Regions from separate parts of the Homo sapiens genome. Here region 2 is linked to region 1. Evidence: promoter capture Hi-C in human tissues and cell types (Jung and others, 2019). All regions are on one chromosome and are shown on one strand. The core of a region is centred on a gene start or on the middle of the fragment in contact, and the rest is flanking DNA. Distances in the headings are between cores, read along the strand shown.

Region 1 (2,700 bases), core at 10-2,509:
CTCATCCTCCTTCCTCACGGTCGCCGCCGCCTCCTCCCTGGGGCCGCCGTCGGGGGCAGGCGCGGTTTCGACAGCGGCTGCGATGGGGTCCGGGCCGGGCTCCTGCGTGCCCACGGGCTCGGGGCCGGCGTCCGCGGGGGCTCCGGGGGCTCCCGGCTGCGCTACCAGCGCTGCGGGCGCGGGGGCGGCGGGGCGTCCGCGGGCGCGCTCCGCGATGAGGCGGCGCGTCTTGCAGAGCAGAAGCACCCGGCGCTGCAGGGGCTGCGGGGGCTGCGGGCCCGGCGCCTCGGCTGCCTCCAAGCCCGGCGGCTCCTCCTGGTCCGACTCTACCACGCTGCGCCGCAGAAAGCGCTGGGGCCCCGGCCGCGCCGCCTTCGCCCGAGGCTCCGCCATGCCCGCGGGCCCCGCGCCGCGCCCGGGCTCCATCAGCGTGCCGGGGACGTCTCGGCGGCCGCCATCGCCGTCCATCTCTGTGGGCCAAGGACACACAGGCCCGCGTGAGCGCCGGCCCTGCCGCACCTGCCCAGGCCGCCGGATGAGACAACGCCGCCCTAAGCCCGCAACCTGCCCAGCCCCGGCCGCGGAGAGAGCCTGCGGGGGCCGTCTCTGGGGGCCCTGGGAAAGGGGGGCTGCAGACGGGACCAGAGGCTTGGGTTGGGGAGGAGGGGTCCGTGCCCTGCTCAGCCCCAGGCTGCGGAGAGGGACGGGCCTGTGGTGTCCCTGGAACCCTGGGAGAGAGGACCTGCTAGGGTGTCCCTGAGGGCCCCGGAGGCCGGCAGAGGGATCTCGCGCCCTGCCCAGCCCTGGCCCAGGAGGGTTCTGCTAGGCTGTCCCGGAGGCAGCTGTAAAGGGGATAGGGAAGCCCGGGGGTGGGAGGAAGGCAGTGGCCCGGCGGCGGCTCCACAAAGGACGCGGGCCCGGGGCGCGGGAGGGGCGCGCGGGGAGGGGGCTGCAGCGCCGCGGCGCGCACACAAAGGCGGCGAGCGGCGTTGAGGGGAGGCTCGGCACTCACAGGGCGAGCGGACGCCGTCCATGCCCGCGGCCCGGCGGCCAGGGCGTGCGAGGCGGGAGAGATCACGCTTCGAGGACGGGGTCCGAGTTCCGGGCGAGGTCCGCGCTGGGGTGGGGGCCGTGGCGCCGCTCCAGCTCCTGCGCGCTGCTCTCTCGGGCCGGGCCACTGCGGGGCCGCGCTCCCGCGTGCTCCTGCCGGCTTCGCGCGGCTCCGCTCCCGCACCGGCTCCGACCCGGCGCGCGGGGAGGGCGGGGCTCCGTTCGCCCCGCCCCGGACCGGCGCAGGGGGCTGGGCCTGGCACGCCCACCTGGCTGCGGACGGGCTGGCTGACTGGCAGGCGCGCGCGGCCACCTGCGGGCCGGCTACCTGGGCTCCCACCCGCGGTTCTTTGCTCGAGGTAGCGCTCCTGTCCTCTGAAGTTCTTTGGAACGCCCCGCAGGGCTGTCAGCTGCGGAGGACCCCGTTTCTTCCTGAGAGGAGGCAGCAGGCTCAACGCCTCAGCACGCCGCAGCCCGGCGCGCTAGACCTCAAGGCCCTGTGCCAGGACAGAATGGGCAGGCTAGGAAGAAAAGGACCAGGGGTACCGCCGCCCTCGGGAGCCCAGCCTGGGGCTAAGCCTGGTGGGGCTCAGCGTGTCCTTTCCTGCCCTCACTTCACCACCAGGAACCATGAGGACCTCATCATCACCCAGGGAGGCACTGGTGATCATTATGCCCATTTCACAGTCTAGAGCAAACTGAGGCGCCAAAGGCAGAAGTTATATGCTCTAAATCCCAGAACTTTCAAGACCGAAGCTGAGCTGGAATGCCTTGGATGGGATATGGAGAGGCTTCCAGAAGCCCCTTGACCCAAAGTGTTCTTCCTTCCCACCTCTGCCAGATGCCACCTCTCCCGAGAAGTCTTCCATGATCTCTAGCTCCTTCCTCCTCTAGACCCCCACGGACAAGCCCTCTCTTGGGCGTCTCTGGCCCTAATGCAGCAGGTGACCTGTGTCAGTAACCATACTGCTAAGTTCTGAGCCCTGCTCCAGGCAATGCCCTGAGCTAACACTTCACCCTTACCCCAGCCTCCATGATCCTAGGTGAGGAAACTGAGGCACAAGGGAGATACCAGAGTATTCTCATCTCAGTCCCCATCCCACTGGGCTGGCACCCCCATCAGATACACACACACTTCCAGAGATGAAAAGATGCTTGTGGGCCTGTAGGCCTTGGAGCCCCTGGCACAAAATAACTCATGTGGCATAAAAGCCAGCAGAGGCGATATCTCACCTTCACAATGTAGAGGGAAGAATATGCCAGGCCAACTGTTACCCAGAGAAGCAGGACTTCCTGGAGCCCCGCTGGGCACTGGCACTGGCTGAAACTAATTTGTGAGGGGCAACAGTGAACATCCCTTCCCAGCTCTGGGTTCAGCAATGCCACCCTGTAGCCTGAAGTCAGCAATGCTGGGAGTATTTACACTGCGGAAATTGGCAAACACCTCAAATCAGGACTTTTCTCCCCAGAGAGCCAGTGGTTAAATAGTGTGCTAGGTGTAGGGCTATGCATTTGGCACTTGCCTGTTATTTATATAATCTAATCTACCGTGTGAGACAGGCATTCATTCCGGGGCTCAAGTCCGCTGGCATGAGCCCAGAGCTCACACGAGGAGGAGGCCAAACAGCAGACGCCAGCTCTGCAGGACAG
Region 2 (2,700 bases), core at 157-2,656, 1.0 Mb before region 1:
AAAGGCCAAGGCAGGTGGATCACCTGAGGTCAGGAGTTTGACCTCAGCCTGGCCAACATGTGGAAACCCCGTTTCTACTAAAAACATAAAAATAGCCAGGCGTGGTGGCAAGCGCCTGTAATCCCACCTATTCCAGAGGCTGAGGCAGGAGAATGGCTTGAACCTGGAAAGTGGAGGCTGCAGTGAGCCAAAATCATGCCACCGCACTCCAGTCTGGGAGACAGAGTGAGACTCCATCTCAAAAACATAAAAAAAAAAAAAATTAAAATTAAAAAAAAAAAGGCCAGGTGCGGTGGCTCACGCCTGTAATCCCAGCACTTTGGGAGGCCGAGGTGGGCGTATCACCAGGTCAGGAGATCGAGACCATCCCTGCTAACATGGTGAAACCCTGCCTCTACTAAAAATACAAAAAAGTAGCTGGGCGTGGTGGCGGACGCCTGTAGTCCCAGCTACTCGGGAGGCTGAGGCAGAAGAATGGCGTGAACTCGGGTGGCAGAGCTTACAGTGAGCCGAGATAGCACCACTGCACTCCAGCCTGGGTGTGCAGAGCGAGACTCTGTCTAAAAAAAAAAAAAAAAAAAAAAAAAAAGAAGATAAAGAAGATTTGATATCTATACAAGAAAATACTACTCAGAAATATAAAGAAACAGTTGAGCTCAGGAGGTCGACACTGCAGTGAGTCAAGATCACAATGCTGCACTCCAGCCTGGAAAACAGAGTGAGAACCTATTTCAAAAATATATATATCACAACAAGAATGAACCTTAAAAACAGGCTAAATGAAAAAAGCCATATTCAAAGGTCTACATATTACATGATTCCTTTAGGGATTAAGTCACCATTTCCCCCAATCACAAAAGAAGGATGTATCAACAAGATATTATTATTATTATTATTTTTTGAGATGGAGTCTCACTCTGTCACCCAGGCTGGAGTGCAGTGGTATGATCTCGGCTTACTGCAAGCTCCGCCTCCCGGGTTCACACCATTCTCCTGCCTTAGCCTCCCGAGTAGCTGGGACCACAGGCACCCATCACCATGCCCGGCTAATTTGTTTTGTATTTTTAGTAGAGATGGGGTTTCACCATGTTAGCCAGGATGGTCTTGATCTCCTGACCTCGTGATCCGTCTGCCTCAGCCTCCCAAAGTGCTGGGATTACAGGCGTGAGCCACCGCGCCTGGCCAGATATTATTTTTAATGCAGTTTTCCAGTCACAGGATTATTTTTCCCAACTATTTAGGCATCTTCTGCTCTGCCATTCACCATACTCTGCCCTTCTTTCCCCTATACTGAAGTGCCCAAGATAATAAAATAATCATAAGACTACTTAGGGAAACTTATTTGCAATCTTGGGAGATATTAGACAAATGTATTATACCTGAAACCTTGTGCATCTTTTCAGATTTTCTCAACCACCTCATTTCTCATTTTGGTCAGTGACCCTCTACTGGGTCACTCCTCTGCTTTCAGACCTAGTTAAAACACCACACTTCAGGGTAGAGTATAAAAAGCTTCCTAAGTAGCTGCCAATGGGCTGGATGATACAACCTGAAAGCTTAGAGAAGTTAGTTCCCCATGAGGACCTATGACCAGTATTTCCAAGACTAATGAGAAGACAAAGACATAGAAGGGTGCTGGGCATATTTTAAGAAGGAAAGGGTACATACAGCATACACAGGGAGTTCTTACATTTCATGATACCATGCTAATACAAACTTGTTCATACTGGAGCCTTGTTCTTGCTTTGCATAGTTCTCTACCAGGCAAGGCAAAGCAAGGACATGGTTCTTATGTGCATGAATTACTGTAACAAGATGCCAGGCAATGCAAGGACTACACACACACACACACACACCACAGACACATACACGCACACACACTTGCATTTAAGAGCCTGTCATGTGAAATGTGCTCATATTCAGTACTCTGGACAATATACCTAGGTAGCTAAAATGAGATCTTGGGTTTAAGAAACTTAGGCTACGTTACTTAAGTGAGACAAGCTATACAGTTTTCTTTTAAACATCTGTTTCTATATCAGTATTTCATTGTAAATCATCAAAAAGTCTATAAATAATAAGTTCTGCATTAGGGTAACTGCAGAGGTTCAAAGTTTACAGTTGCCATTCAAGAGAGCAAAAATGTAACAAAAACTTTTGTTGCCGAGTATCTTGAGCCCCCATGTCTACTAATGGCAGAACACTGAAATTTCATCCATTTAAGAGAACTGTCTCGATTTAAAGCAGTTTTTAGGAGAGTTAGTTTATCAAATTCAAGAGGATCTAAATTTCCAAAGGGCTTAACTCATGTCAGCACTAAGAAGGGGTGTCCTTACTGTTTGGTCCATACTGTCTTGAGCTTGGTCCTTGCTGCCTGCCACTTGTAAGATCCCAGTTTCAGAAATGTGGTCTTGCCATCAGCCTCTTACCACTTCATGTTCATGCTCACGTTCAGGGTCCTGCTACAGATGTCAGAGATCCATTGTCTACCATCCTTATCTAAGCCATAGGCTTCTTCCTGATGGCCCCTTAGCACCTTTCCTCTTCCCTCACATTTAGGGGCTTTCCCTGGACTTCCCTATGTGGGATCCTGTGAGGAGAGCTTTTCCCTGCAAGTCTCATAACCCCCATTCACTATAAGGTAGTTCATTTTTCTCATATAATACAAAGTGTAGAGGAGAGCAGATGCTGGCATTGACT

Evidence for each region. The method cuts DNA at HindIII sites, captures the fragments that hold promoters and counts their contacts. A contact is called where the count stands out against the background at its distance.
Region 2: a fragment that was not itself captured here is called in contact with the fragment with the promoter of WNK2 in region 1 in 1 of the 25 tissues and cell types used here (spleen).

What each region holds. Positions count from the first base shown.
Region 1 is chr9:93,182,698-93,185,397 of GRCh38, reverse strand. WNK2 (WNK lysine deficient protein kinase 2) reads right to left here and starts at 1,259. Exons shown (of 30, transcript NM_006648.4): 1 at 1,013-1,259; 2 at 1-470. The coding sequence starts at 468. The HindIII fragment of the contact is 13,924 bases long and covers 1-2,700 here.
Region 2 is chr9:94,183,499-94,186,198 of GRCh38, reverse strand. All of the region lies in intron 4 of MIRLET7A1HG (miRlet-7a-1/let-7f-1/let-7d cluster host gene), which reads right to left. All of the region lies in intron 2 of LINC02603 (long intergenic non-protein coding RNA 2603), which reads left to right. Among named protein-coding and RNA genes, the nearest start is that of MIRLET7D, 6.0 kb to the right of the region's middle. The HindIII fragment of the contact is 5,249 bases long and covers 1-2,700 here.